Regions from separate parts of the Homo sapiens genome. Here region 2 is linked to region 1. Evidence: promoter capture Hi-C in human tissues and cell types (Jung and others, 2019). All regions are on one chromosome and are shown on one strand. Each heading gives the region's core, a stretch centred on a gene start or on the middle of the fragment in contact. The rest is flanking DNA. Distances are from core to core; before and after follow the strand shown.

Region 1 (7,815 bases), core at 3,565-6,064:
GCATAAAAGAACAGACTCCTTGCAGGATGTTCTTATTTAACCTGAGTACAAAAGGCCTTCTCTTGGCAGTGCTGAAAGAAAAAGAAAAGAAAGAGAGAGAGAAAGAAAGGGAGACTTTTGTAGTGAAAAGGAACCTCTCCATCTCCCCTGCATCCCATTTTATAAAGAAAAGCCAGTACCACACCAAGAGTTAAATGGCTTTCCCATATTTAGGAGCCAGATTATGGCTGACACCCTATACAGAGTACCATCCCTAGCCTCTTAACTCCTTGGCACGATGCCTTTCTTGGCCATACCCTGGGAGAAGATCTGTCTTATAAAGGAGGTAATAATAGGAACCCAGTGACATGGAAGAAAATTGTTTTTCTGTAGATGCGGAGACTGTGTCATGGGATCCTACATCTTGCTTTCTGCAGACACTGGCCTATCCTTAGGGTTGGAGATGTTAAATCCTTTGGGGACTCAAAGAGGACATTGCACTCCCTATACCCACCACCACAGACCTTTCTGAGTGTCAGGACCTCAGAAAGGATGCAGGCAGATATCTATCTGGTTAGGCACTATCTTCACTGGGTTTAGAGGCTGGAACCCAGCCTCTACTCTCAGATTAGCTTTTAATGTCTTACTCCAGTAAAACACATCTTCTGAGCTTGGTTAGAAAGCTACCACGGAGCCTGATTTATCTGGGCTGGCCATCTCCACCGCCCAAATAAATGTAATCACGGTCAAATCTTGCCCTCTGTTTGTACTGGGGAGTGCAGAAAATCCAGCTCTCAGGGGAGTCATAACATGGACCAGGTCTAAAAGTTCTTTTAACATCATGAAGAACATTAAGACCAAACTGTTTTAAAAGTCAATGAGAAAGTCATATCATTTTTTACAAAACATCAGGAATGAGGAATCCCTGCTATACTCAAGATTGACACTAACAAAAATGTTGGCAACACCCACCGTAAGGAATGATATGTATGCGGTATTTTCCTAGCAAAGTAAAATTATATGGCAACAAATCTGCTTCTTTTGATTTAATGAAGAGAAAGAAGGAAAGAAGGGAAGGAGGGAGAGAAAAAAGAAAAGAGGAAAGAAGGGAATTTAAAATACAGCAGTAGACTGGGCGCGGTGTCTCACTCCTGTAATCCCAGCACTTTGGGAGGCCAAGGTGGGAGGATCACTTGAGCCTAAGAGTTTAAGACCAGCTCTGGCTAGCAACATAGTGAGACCCTGTTTCTACAAAAAAATTAAAAATTAGCCAGGTGTGGTGGCATGCAGCTGTAGTCCCAGCTACTTGGGGGTGAGGTGGAAGAACCGCTTGAGCCTGGGAGGTCAAGGCTGCAGTTAACCACGATTGCACCACTGTGCTCCAGCCTGAGCGACAGAATGAGATCCTGTCTCAAAAAATATATAAAAATATATAAAATAAAAAAAATCAGCAGTCACAAATAATAGAGATGGAAAAATAGTTGGTGAATAGCATGGAGTGTTTTGGAGTATATTTGTCTGTCTCCCTCATGGATGAAAAGGTTGAGAAATATTCTATGCATGGCATCCAGCACTTAAAATATAAAGAAGACATGTGTTAGCATGCTGTTCCCGAGTTATGAGGTTCAATTCCACGCTGATAAGCATATTTCACCTATTCAAAAATATAATACAAAATATTAAATTTGTTACATTAATTATGATCATATTTATACCAGACTGAATAGGAGGCAGGGTTCCCTACAGGACTAAATAAACTCAGTTTAATAAACTAAATTCATCTACTCTGGCTCCCACCTCCTCTGTCACCCAGCTGTAAGAGAGACTCAGACAATCACCAGAACCCTCTCTCCTTCCTAAGACATGTTGGTCACAGTTCCTGCACATTTTTCTTGCTCTCCATGACCTAGTATCTGCCAAAATATAATCGATGTTGGAAAAATTTTTACCCCCAGCCCCATGTAAGTATGTTGTATTTCCCCAACTAGTCACAGACTGAAAGCTGAGGACAAGAAGCCTGCCTTTCATATTGTGAGATATGCTCCCAATAATGGATACTCACCGAATATTAACTGGCTGCTGATGGAACAATGAGTTTTACTATACCTCTTTATCTACCTTGCACTCTTGTTGCCAATGAACAAACCACATCCTGGAAAGGATTTTCAAATGGAGAAAAAGTACTGAAAAAATAAATTTCCTCATTTGGAACAAAGGTTTGATTTGCTATGTACTTAGCCCTCTCTGAGGACCACCCATGTAATTTCTCCCCTGAATAATTTGTGAGGTTACCTCTCCTCTGCCCACTAAATGATTTGAAGGTAGATTATATGTGAACTCATCTTTTATCACACAATATCATGTATAATGCTTAGCACAAAGTAGGAACTCAGATATTGACCAACTCATTATTAGTTTTAAACTCATGACAACTTCAGGAGCAATGTGAAAGCTGAGGAAGGAGGTAGAAGCTAGCCCATTCTTGAAACTCTATGCTTGGTTTAGCTCTCCTAGCTCAATACCACAGATTCTGTCCAGACTCAGTGAATATTGAAACATAATAGACAAATGATATGTGTTCAGAGATCAAGGTTGAATTTATGCAACAAGCTTCTTTGTTATAACAGAATTTTCCTTTTGTTGATTAAATTGTTCCACTTTCTCTTCTTTTGCCCCAGGCAATGGATTTTTTTTGTGAAGCCAAGCTTTTAATGAACCAAGTTCATTAAATGTATTAATCATATACTATCTCTTCAGAAAAAAAGGCAAGAGATTGGCCTTTAGTGTGGCACAAATATATTTCTAGATTCAAAATATTTAAACAGGTTAATAGGACTAAAAAGAAACATTTTCAACCTTCTGATTGGCAGGCGGATTTTTCTCTACGTTTCAAAGTCATTCAAACTTAACACAGCTTGCAGATTTCCTAGTACACTGAAGGTGCTTAACGCATTGATTCCTGACAGGATAATTTCCTGGACAGATGGAATTTGGGATGGGAAGGACACTAATATAACTAGGGTACCATTCAAGAATTGTTTAGATGATCTTCTTAATATTACCTTTGAAACTGAAGGAACTAGAACACAGACCATAGTAAATTGTGTTTTAATTACTCCTTCTCCCAGTAAACTTTAGGATTTTTTTACTTTAAGATTGTCACTGGCTTTACTTGGTGGTGGCCCCAGTTCTGACTATAGTAGGTCAGCATGTGGAGTCATTATAGACAGCCTAAATCTATACAGCTTAGAGGAAGACAAAATAAATATATCTTACTCTTTTTTAATTCAATAGTGATTATTCAATCATCTCTCCCTTTTCCAAACTCACAAAACAGTTGCTTATTTTCTGACACTTATAATATCAACCTGTTTTTAAAAGAATTATGTATGCTTTTATATTTATTGCTATAATTTTATTGTTACTACATCTTTTATTATTACTGTAATTAGAATAAAGAGAACTTTATTATTTAAAATGAGAGCTGTGTCTCATAAATATTTGTATTCACTGTGCCCCTCCCCCCACCACCCATCTCACCAAAAAATTTAAAAAATAAAAATAAGGTAACAACCCAGAGGGCAGCCCAATGCCAGGGCTCTAGGCTTCCAATAAGTTTTTGTTGAATTAAATAGATCATTTCCCATTTATAAGCATGACATCATTCTTATACACCAGCCTTACTTTATTATATCCACACACCAATTTCAATGACGTCAAATTCACTTTCTAATTCACTTTCAGCTCTTCTTCTCCTCAAGGTTGTTTCTTTTCTCCCTAGAAAGGGTATTGCGTGGTCCCGTGCAAGGTAAGACTTGGGAGCAAACCCTGCATTCGGAAGCGTTGCGATGTGATATACTAATGAGGAAGTCAGGCGCTAAGCCCTAAGGGTTTCTTATTTCTCCACATTAGCCCACCACTGAGAAGGGAGAACCGGGGAAAGGCGACTGACCTGGCACGTTGGACCCTGTCCGCTTTGGTCCCGGCCACTTTGATCTCACGCGTCTGCCTAATCAAGTTCATCTACCGCCGCGATTGCCCTGATTCAAAGAACAACATTAAATGGTTTGATTATCGGATGGTCATTTCCCTCTTCCCTCCACCCCTGATCTAATTTCTAAACGCCAGTCTCTCGCCTCCCTCTCTAAACTTCCCATCAAAAGAGAATTAGCTCTTCTTCCTTCTTACCCTCGTTTGATGTGCAAATTTCCTTCTCTTTGCACATTTTTCTCGCAGTGGCGGGGGGAGGTGGGGGAGGAGGGCAACTGAAGGACCTCAAAGCCGGGGATCTAACTCAGATCTGCAAACTGCGACTCTAAAGGGTTAATGAGCAACTTGCACCCGCCACCTGGCCCTCTCAGAGGCGTCTTGCTAGAGCCATTGAATTACAGACCGGTTTGTATTTAATACTGAATATGACTTGTGTGCACAGTCAGCGAGTATTGGCATAAAGGAGAGGGGCAAAAAGTGCTTTTGCAGAGCCTATCACCCCTCGGCTCTGTAAAGTATTTCAGATCCGGATAATTCAACCCTTACTGCCAGGCAAGGGCACCCAAGTTCCCAGAGTTCCTGCTGCCGCCTGCATTTATTAAAGTCGTCTGCTATAACGCTCGCTGGTAGCCTTCACCCCGAAGGTGAGCCGGGCCAGCCGAGCGACTAAGCAAGGGAGGGGCGGGGTGAAGAGTGTCAAAGGCCCCCCTTCATGTACACAAACACACCCCCTCCCAGCCCCTCCCAGCGCTTTGAAATCCCATCCCGGCTTTGTTGTCTCCCTCCCAAGGGGCCGGAATGCTCCGGGCCCGCGGTATAAAGGCAGCCGCGGTGGCGGTGGCGGCGCAGAGCTCTGTGCTCCCTGCAGTCAGGACTCTGGGACCGCAGGGGGCTCCCGGACCCTGACTCTGCAGCCGAACCGGCACGGTTTCGTGGGGACCCAGGCTTGCAAAGTGACGGTCATTTTCTCTTTCTTTCTCCCTCTTGAGTCCTTCTGAGATGATGGCTCTGGGCGCAGCGGGAGCTACCCGGGTCTTTGTCGCGATGGTAGCGGCGGCTCTCGGCGGCCACCCTCTGCTGGGAGTGAGCGCCACCTTGAACTCGGTTCTCAATTCCAACGCTATCAAGAACCTGCCCCCACCGCTGGGCGGCGCTGCGGGGCACCCAGGCTCTGCAGTCAGCGCCGCGCCGGGAATCCTGTACCCGGGCGGGAATAAGTACCAGACCATTGACAACTACCAGGTGAGAGGGGTCGGGCACTCAGAGGATGCTCTGACCTTGAAAGGGTCCTATCTGGAGACGAGGGAGTAGAACGTGCTGAATGTGTGCGGTTCAGGGAGCATTTGGTAACCCTGCATTTGGGAGCAGTGGGCAGTAACAGGTTTTGGAGAGGTGGACAGATAAGGACTGTGATCAGCGCCCGGGTCCAAGAGGGCGGGTACCTGGACGTCTGGGTGCCTCACCCTCTCCCCGAACCCTTCCCACAGCCGTACCCGTGCGCAGAGGACGAGGAGTGCGGCACTGATGAGTACTGCGCTAGTCCCACCCGCGGAGGGGACGCAGGCGTGCAAATCTGTCTCGCCTGCAGGAAGCGCCGAAAACGCTGCATGCGTCACGCTATGTGCTGCCCCGGGAATTACTGCAAAAATGGTGAGTCCTGAAAGCTCCCTTTCACACTAAAACTGTCCAGCCTTTGAGCGTCTATGAATTGGGCGGGGGCGGGGGGTTGGGGGGGGTGGGGGGAGAAATCTCCGCCCTGAGAACACTGCGGCGCCACCTGCAAATGGGTGTTCAGCATGCAGGATTCCGCTGAAGTATCTTCATTGCAAGTGTTTAATCGGGAAGAAGAGAGAAGTTGGGAGGTCTCTGAGGTCCTTATCTTCCTCCGTGTCCCTCAATGATTCAATACAACGGTTCACCTCGTAGTGGACTCTTCCATAAAAATTTGTCTGGGGAGAACCTTGAGGTCAATTGAGAAGGGGGATGATGAGGAGGACGATGGGATCATACAGATATCAAAGAAACCAGCTTTGGCGTTCAGCTGTCCTTTTCATTTTTCTTATTGTGATTCTCACAGTTTTGCCAGACTGGCCTCGCCTTCTGATTTTTGCTGAAACTGTTGTCAGCCAGAGGACTGATTTATCTGCATTGGCCATTTTTAAGAGAGATCTTGGTACCCTCACAACTTGACTTCTCCATCCTTCCCCCTCCCTCTACCCTCTGCTGCCTTAATATAAGTACTCCTCCCCCCAACCACAGATCCACTAACTTTTAATTTTTCAAAAGGTGGATTTAGACAGCTAAAGAGGTCTCCAGAAATAAGCTAACAGGGCGACGACCCTCCTTAGGACCCAGCAGTACTCCAGGATGAACTAAGTAAATCTCTGTAATATAGAAATTACACAGTAAAGTAACTGGCCGGTGAGATTGCAATGTTCCAGGCAGCTGGAATTGCATTTGCTTAACTTAGTCTGGTAGGACCCATATAGCACCAGGGGCAGAGAAGTTATTTTTAAGAACATTTTTAAAGTGACTGAGTTTCTTTTTCTTACCCCAAAGGTAATATTAAAATGGGCAGAAATCTCACTTGCCCCTACCACAGTTGGTGGGAAAGTATTTTAAATGGCTATACTGGGGATATTACCTATGACTGACTGTATACAGTATACACATTGGTGCTTCTGTCCATCTGGAGAGTTTTGCATTAACAGTAAAGAGGAAGTTTGGCTTGTGTTTAAAATGATGTCACTGCAATGAAGTATCTCAAGTTGATGCTGGCATAACAGACTGCCACTGTCACAGCTGTTAGCAGTAATGCATTACAACCCTGAAGTTAATCACTATTTCCTGCTTCCTTAGGAATATGTGTGTCTTCTGATCAAAATCATTTCCGAGGAGAAATTGAGGAAACCATCACTGAAAGCTTTGGTAATGATCATAGCACCTTGGATGGGTATTCCAGAAGAACCACCTTGTCTTCAAAAATGTATCACACCAAAGGTAAGGATGTTAAGACTCATTCTTAGCACATCAGAAGTGTCTTTTGAATTATTTTAGTGAAACGATGCAGGTTTAACAGTAACTATGTACTTTTTTCCTACTGTCTTCTCCTTCGTAGGACAAGAAGGTTCTGTTTGTCTCCGGTCATCAGACTGTGCCTCAGGATTGTGTTGTGCTAGACACTTCTGGTCCAAGATCTGTAAACCTGTCCTGAAAGAAGGTCAAGTGTGTACCAAGCATAGGAGAAAAGGCTCTCATGGACTAGAAATATTCCAGCGTTGTTACTGTGGAGAAGGTCTGTCTTGCCGGATACAGAAAGATCACCATCAAGCCAGTAATTCTTCTAGGCTTCACACTTGTCAGAGACACTAAACCAGCTATCCAAATGCAGTGAACTCCTTTTATATAATAGATGCTATGAAAACCTTTTATGACCTTCATCAACTCAATCCTAAGGATATACAAGTTCTGTGGTTTCAGTTAAGCATTCCAATAACACCTTCCAAAAACCTGGAGTGTAAGAGCTTTGTTTCTTTATGGAACTCCCCTGTGATTGCAGTAAATTACTGTATTGTAAATTCTCAGTGTGGCACTTACCTGTAAATGCAATGAAACTTTTAATTATTTTTCTAAAGGTGCTGCACTGCCTATTTTTCCTCTTGTTATGTAAATTTTTGTACACATTGATTGTTATCTTGACTGACAAATATTCTATATTGAACTGAAGTAAATCATTTCAGCTTATAGTTCTTAAAAGCATAACCCTTTACCCCATTTAATTCTAGAGTCTAGAACGCAAGGATCTCTTGGAATGACAAATGATAGGTACCTAAAATGTAACATGAA
Region 2 (7,815 bases), core at 3,981-6,480, 400 kb after region 1:
AAGTGAATATTGAAGGAATAAATGAAAGAATAAAAAATTAGAGTTGCCTAATGGCATTTAATCTGACTAAAGTTAATTTTGGCTCACTCAGAATAATAACCTGTTCTGCAACTCTCAAAGCTAAAAAGGAAATTTAGGGACCCCCTAAAAGAAAAAAATATCCTCATTTAACTGGTATTTAAATGAAATGTAGAGACTTTAATTTTGCACAGCTAATTAGACCTAGAATTAGAAATCAGTTTTGGAGGCTCATTGCTAGGCATCTTGTCCACAGCAAAATAAAACTATTTATTTTTTCATAGAATTCGTAATTTTATTATATTTTCATACGTATATGTTTTAGTATTTCTTCAAAAATCTACAAAGCAATTGTATACTACCTCCAAGTCCTCATGCTGGTCCAGGCCACCATTGTCTCTAGCTAGGATTACTGCAGGAGATCCTGACAGATCTCCCTGCTTCTGGTCTTGCCAGAGTGAGTCTTTTAAACTGTAATTGCGATTATGTTGGTTCTCTGCCTCTGAACCCTGTAATGATTCTCTTTTGTCTCAGAGTAGGAGCCAATGTCCTTTCAATGGTCTGTGGGGCCCTACATGTCCCAGTGCCCATTCCTCCCTGGTTTCTTCTTCTTCTTCTTCTCCTTCTCCTTCTCCTTCTCCTTCTTCTTCTTCCTTCTATTTTTTTAGATAAAGTTTTGCTCTTGTTGCCCAGGCTGGAGTGAAATGGTGCGATCTTGGCTCACTGCAGTCTCCACCTCCCAGATTGAAGCAATTCTCCTGCCTCAGCCTCCCCAGTAACTGGGATTACAGGTGCCTGCTGCCACACCCAGCTAATTTTTACATTTTTAGTAGAGATGGAGTTTCACCACATTGGCCAGGCTGGTCTTGAACTCCTGGCCTCAGGTGACCCACCTGCCTTGGCTTCCCAAAGTGTAGGGATTACAGACCACCATGCTGGCCTCTGGTCTCATCTTCTTCTCTTCCTCTAGCCCGTTTCAGATAATCTATGCTGCCCGTTTCCTGTGACGCCTATGTGTCTGGATGTTCTTGTCTGGTATAAAGACTCGGCTGTTGCTGTGCCCTCTAATTGAAACACTGAACTCCCATAAACTGCTTGCTAACTTATATATCATTCAAGTTTTTGCTCAGATTTTTACCACTTCAGTGAAGTCTACCATAAACACTTTTATTTAATATTGTAATCTGTCTCTCAACTTCTGTCCCCTACTGCCCTGCACTCTCAAATCCTCTTACACTTCTCTTTTAATTTTTTTCATATCACTGTCACCTTCTATTCTATCATTATTTTGTTTGTTTATTTATTTATTTATTTAGTAGTCATGTTGTCTCCACTGGAATGGAAGCCTCTCAACAGCAGAGATACCCCTTTTCTATATTTCCCACTGATGTATGCCAAACATCTAAAGTAGTACTTGACACATAGAAGGTACCTTGTATATTACTTAGATGACTAAGATAAAATATAGAATTATATATATTATTAAAAAATTTTTTTTGAGACAGAGTCTTGCTATGTCGCCCAGACTGGAGCGTAGTGGTGCCATCTCCGCTCACTGTAATCTCCGCCTGCTGGGTTCAAGTGATTTTTCCTGTCTTAGCCTCCAAGTAGCTGGGATTACAGGCACATGCCACCATGCCTCGCTAATTTTTGTATTTTTAGTAGAGACAGGGTTTCATCATGCTGGCCAGAATGGTCTCGAACTCCTGACCTCAAGTGATCTGCCTGCCTCGGCCTCCCAAAGTGTTGGGATTACAGATGTGAGCCACCATGCCCAGACAATATATATATATATATTATATATATATATGTATATAAAATGGTGTTGGATATAAAATATCTAATTTACTCATTAATGTAATAATTTGAACAAATACATTTATCATATGGGAATAAATGCAGTATCTTTTTTAAAAAAATTAACTGGTATTCTAGCCAGAGACAGTATAACATTTGATCTTTTAAAATATAGCAATAGCAAATATTAATAGACATAAATATATTTACTCAGTTCTTAATATTTGTTTTTTCCAAGAGTTTAAAAATTTTCCTGTTCTTCTTGTTATTGATTTCTAGTTTATTCCATTGTAATTATATAACTCACTCTGTACAATTTCAATTCTTTTAAAAATGTTAATGTTGGTTTTATGACCCAAGATGTGGTCTATCTTGGTATATGTTTCATGGGTGCTTGAAAATCATGTCAATTCTGGTGTTCTGTAAATGTCAATTAAATCCTATTGGTTGATGGTATTGTCCAGTTCTTCTGTATTCTTGTGGATTTCTGTCTAGTTGTTCTATCAATTGTTTATTGATGAATGTTGAAGTCTACAAATATAATCGTGGAGTTGTCTATTTCCTCTTCAAGTTGTATCAGTTTTGCTTCATGTATATTATAGCTCTGATGTTTGGTGCATTTAGGTCTATACATCTTCTTGGTAGATTGACCTTTCTATCATTATGTAAGGTCCCTGTCTTTCTGGTAATTTCTTTACTTTGAAGTCTACATTATTAATCTAGTCCCTCCCGATATCTTTTGATTAATATTTGCATTGTGTATCTTTTCCATCCTCTCTCTTTCAACTTGCTTATATCCTTATATTTGATGTGAATTTCCTGTAGACCACACATAGTTGGATCATGTTTTTAAATCCATTCTGTTAACTTCTGTCTTTTTTTGTTTGTTTGTTTTTAGATGGAGTCTCGCTCTGTCGCCTAGATTGGATGGCAGTGGTGTGATCTTGGCTCACTGCAACCTCTGCCTCCCGGGTTCAAGCAATTCTCCTGCCTCAGCCTCCTGAATAGCTGGGATTACAGGCACACACCACCACGCCCAGATAATTTTTTTGTATTTTTAGGAGAGACCAGGTTTCACCATGTTGGTCAGGCTGGTCTTGAACTCCTGACCTTGTAATCTGCCCATCTTGGCCTCCCAAAGTGCTGGGATTACAGGTGTGAGCCACCACACCCGGAAATCTCCATCTTTTAATTGGTGTACTTAGACCATTTACACTTAATGGAAGGATAGATATATTAGGCCTTAAATCTGCATTTTATTTTTTTCTTCTGTTTTATTTTTCATTTTTCTGTTTTGTTTTTGATGGCTTTCTGTAAGTTAATTAAATTGAACATTTTTTAGAATTTTATTTTGATTTATCTATAATGTCTTAGGTATGATATTGTATATACATATTTTATCACAGCCTATTGGTATCAACATTTTACCAACTCAAGTGAAATATGAAAATCTTACTTTTCTTTACCCTCTCCCACTCATAATTGTCTAACATATTTCCTCTACATACATTGTGAATCACATTAAACAGCATTATAATTATTGCTTCAACTATTAAACAAAATTTAGAAACCTTAACAGAAAAGGAAATGTATTTTTACTTTTTCTGTTTTTTTTTTTCTTCATGATGTTCTAATATCTATTTTTCTTCTGTTTGGAGAACTTCCTTTAACCATTCTTCTAGAATATGTTTGCTAGTGACAAATTGTCTTAGCTTTGCTTCAATGAAAATGTCTTGATTTCCTCTTAATTTGTAAGGGTGTTCTAACTGGATATAGATTTTTGGATTAATAGTTATTTTTTCCAGCACTTAAAAAATTCTATGCTACTTTCTTCTGGCCTCCATGGTTTGTGATGACAAATCTGTTATCATCCTAATTATCTTTCCTCCTAAAGAAAAGATCTCACTCTTCTCTCCCTGCTTTCAAAATATTTACTTTGTTGTTATTGTTCAGAAGTTTGACTATGATGGTGGCTTTGGTGTGATTTCTTTGAGTTTACCCTGTTAGTTTTTCACTCTGCTTCTTGAATTTGTTGGTTTATGGCTTTTGCCAAATTTGAGAATTATTAGCCATTATTTCTTTGAATATATTTTCAGCTCTTTTTTCTTTCTCTCTCCTTCTTGGACTTTGATGACAGTACTATTAGACCTTTTGTTGTAGTCTCACAGGTCCCTGAGGTGGTATTCTTCTTGTCATTTTGTTTTTGTTTTTGAGATGGAGTCTCGCTCTGTCACCCAGGCTGGAGTGCAGTGGCGCAATCTTGGCTCACTGTAACCTCCGCCTCCCAGGTTCAAGCGATTCTCCTGCCTCAGCCTCCTGAGTAGCTGGGACTACATGTGCTTGCCAGCATGCCTGGCTAATTTTTTGTATTTTTAGTAGAGACGAGGTTTCACCGTGTCAGCCAGGATGGTCTCAATCTCCGAATCTCGTAGTCCGCCTGCCTCAGCCTCTCAAAGTGCTGGGATTACAGATGTGAGCCACCGCACCCGGCCTTTCTTGTCGTTTTTTTATTTTGTCTCTGATCTTCAGATTTGGTAATTTCTATTGCTTCACTCTTAAGTTCCCTGATGAGTCTTTCTTCTGTCCTTTGTATTCTATTGTTGAGGCCATCCATTGAATTTATTTTTAAAGTCTTCTTTATTATATTCTTCCATTTTAAAGTTTTTATTTGTGTTTTTAAATACCTTCTATTTTTCTTTATTTTGATTGCTGAAACTTTCTATTTCTTCGTCAACATTTTCTCTTTTAAAAAATTTGTTTCAGTAATGTTTGTATTGCTCATTGAAATGTTTTATTATGGTTGCTTTAAAATCCCTCTTAGATAATTCTAATATCTATGCCACCTTGATGTTGCATCTATTGATTGTCCTTTCTCATTCATGTTGAAATTGTCTTGTTTCTTGGTATACGGAGTGATTTTTCTATTGAAATCTAGACAATTAAGTTATTATAAGACTCAGTGTCTTTTTTCAATGTTCTGTTTCAGCAGGTTTCCTCTGATATCATTCTGGCAAGAGAAAGGTAGACATCGCCTTTCACTGCCAGGTGGGATGGAAATCCAAATTTCTCACTCAGCCTTCATTTGCAGGAGGGCCTCTTGGTTACTGCTGGATGGAGGTGGAACTTCTGGCATCCCAGTTAACCTCTGCTGATACCAGCCTGGCTAGGAGGGTCAGGGATGCCTTGTTACTACTTCTCAAGGGTCTTCCACTGACACCATGAGGTAGTATGGTCTTTATTACTGCTGAGTATAGTGAAAGTTCTGACTCTCTATTAGCTCTCCTTTGACACCACTCTGGTAGTGGGACAGGGTGTTTCTACTGCAATGTAAGAATGGAAGTCCAGTTTTCTCATTTAACATCCTTGCATGTGTGGGCTTGTTCTTTCCCTGTGGATGTAAAAGTCCTGGATATCTACTGAATCTTCTCTGACACCACTCTGGCGGGGAGGTTGGAGTATCTCATTGTGCCTAGAGAGGGTAAAAGCTACATTTACACTCAGTCTTGGTTGTTTGGAGTTGGGAGTAGGGCCCCTGTTTTTTTTTTTTGTGATGTTTGGTTGGAGAAGAGCAGTTACTAAAAGTTTCTGTCTTGCTAGACATCTCCTCTCCTAGACCTTTGGATCAAGGCATCCAGCTTCTCCTGGGGCACTTTTTCTTTGTACCAGTTTGTTTTCCAGGTGGCCATCTTCTCCAGTGCCCAGTCTGGAATATGTGAGATGACAAGAAAACTTTAAAAACTTATTGTTGTATTCTTGCTTAGATTCTAAAACATTTAGCTAGTTGATCCTTTTTTCTCCATCTTGCAGAGTCTTCTTATGTTTGTTTTATATATAATGTCCAGGATTCTTACTTGTATTTACCAGGAAGAATAGAGGAAAAATACTTCAACTCTATCTTTCTTGACGCAAGAGTCTCTTAAAATTTATTTTTTAGTTCTTCAAACTTGATTTCTTAAATGATATCATGACTTTCAGTTGTTACATCATAATAATAGGTGTAAAGTTTATAGAAAATACCTTTGGAAAATTCTATTAACATCTGTCACATACTATAACAAGCGTATATTTTTAAAGAGTCACAAAAAACTAGAGAAGAAAATGTTACTAACTTTTCAGTAATACAAATACAAAGTATATTACAAATGCTTTTCTGGGATATATTTGTATATCATGAAGGAAGGACATTATGTTAACTTAGTTCTCAGTAAGATTGGAAAATCCTATAAATAAAAATACATTTAAATGTAAATGAAGGTCAGCTTATACACTTAATGAGTATTATTGATGAAAGTACACAATGATAATGGTAAAAGACAACCCAAAATTTCCTTTTAGATTAATGACTCTTACAGTATGCCAAATTAGTGATAAATAATAAGACAAGGTTTTAAAAAATTAATTTCAAAACATTTAAAAGTTATATTTTATGTTGCTATAATAATGGAGGTTAATACTGTTAGGGTGTTGCCAATTCTACTATAACAGTGAAGTTACCAGAATAATATTATGGAACATTGGGTAAGATCAGCAGAAATTTGTTGTTGTCATTGGTGTCACTGTTGTTGTAAAAAGTCCCCTAAATATTTTATTTTCTGAATTTTTAGCTGCAAGTCCATATTGGTAATGCAAGATTACTTTTTCTAGCAAGTAAATAAAGATAAATAGCATTTAGTATATAGTATTGACAATGACTGATTTTTATTTTCCATTTCAGATGTTGGGTTTCAATGCAATTTATCTATTTTTTAAAAAGATTTTAGCCGGGCGTGGTGGCGTGCCCCTGTAGTCCCAGCTACTCGGGAGGCTGGGGCAGGAGAATGGCGTGAACCCAGGAGGCAGAGCTTGCAGTGAGCCAAGATCGCACCACTGCACACTAGCCTGGGTGACAGAGTGAGACGCCATCTCAAAAAAAAAAAAAAAAAGATAAAAAATATCTAAGGCATGGAAGTTCATTAAGCTGTCAACTAATTTTTACCAATTTCTATTTAAACACAACAATAATAACTAACAAATTTATATCAATGTATTCAGTTATGACTAGCGTTAATAACTTATGTACTGGCAAAATAGGAAATAGCTGAGTAGCCACGATCAGAGAGGTAGAGGGGTAATGTTCAGTTTCTAGAGTCAGGATAGTCTTGCTTCTAGTCTGTGTCTGTTACTCACTAGTTGTATGACCTTGGCAATTTACTTAAACCTCTTGCCTTAAATTCTTCATTAGTAAATTGGAATAATCATACATAATTGATACAAATGGATATCACTATTTCCAAATATCTCCTGAGGGGAAAAATGGAGAATGAATCCTGGAGCACTGAAGTGCCTGGTTTCAGGTGATCCCAGCCCCAGATGATGCACATTCTTCCTGGTGTTCAGTGGTCCAGTCTTTCTTCAGACTTCAGAGATAGACGAATTTGCCATTTTGGCTTCAGCAAGTCAAGTTGTATGGTTTTTTAGTCATATAAGGCTGTCTGATTTATACTGATTAATTATATTAGTGACAATATTTCTCTAGTCAGCCATTTTAAAACCTAAGATTGAAAAGTGGTCAATTTATAAGGATGGGAGAAATAAATACGTTGAGAGAGTGAAAAAGGCAAAACTATGGTTACCCTGAAGAGGTGAACCCCCAAAACACTGTAATAGCAGAAAACAGTAAGGCAGTTTGATAAGCATTTTGCAAAAACATGATCTATTGAATATTGGTAGGTTATGTAAGAGGTACATAGACATGGTCCTACTTTGCAAGGGGTTCATCATCTGAGTCCTAATTTAATCAGCTACTCCGTCTGCTTCTTTCCTTTTTGCTCTTTCTTCTTCACTCTCTTTCTCAATCTTAATATCCTCATAATTGTTTTCAACATTCAAATCTCTGGCTTCAAATTCTTTTACTTGAATTGGGTAGTACCTCAATAAGATTTCCTGGCAATAAATCAGAATTTTAAAAGCTCTAACAGTTTTCTAGCTGCTTCTGACCATAAGGTTTTTCATACATATTTT

Evidence for each region. The method cuts DNA at HindIII sites, captures the fragments that hold promoters and counts their contacts. A contact is called where the count stands out against the background at its distance.
Region 2: a contact is called between a fragment that was not itself captured here and the fragment with the promoter of DKK1 in region 1, in 1 of the 25 tissues and cell types used here (lymphoblastoid cells).

Annotation. Positions count from the first base shown.
Region 1 is chr10:52,309,467-52,317,281 of GRCh38, forward strand. DKK1 (dickkopf Wnt signaling pathway inhibitor 1) reads left to right here and starts at 4,815. Exons shown (of 4, transcript NM_012242.4): 1 at 4,815-5,211; 2 at 5,457-5,619; 3 at 6,829-6,969; 4 at 7,088-7,815. The coding sequence starts at 4,969. The coding sequence ends at 7,341. It overlaps PRKG1-AS1 (PRKG1 antisense RNA 1), which reads right to left and starts at 4,662. Exons shown (of 6, transcript NR_038277.1): 1 at 4,168-4,662; 2 at 3,932-4,019; 3 at 1-71. The HindIII fragment of the contact is 6,920 bases long and covers 940-7,815 here.
Region 2 is chr10:52,708,897-52,716,711 of GRCh38, forward strand. The region is part of intron 1 of LOC105378305 (a long non-coding RNA gene); the gene reads right to left. Among named protein-coding and RNA genes, the nearest start is that of MBL2, 60 kb to the right of the region's middle. The HindIII fragment of the contact is 8,163 bases long and covers 1,150-7,815 here.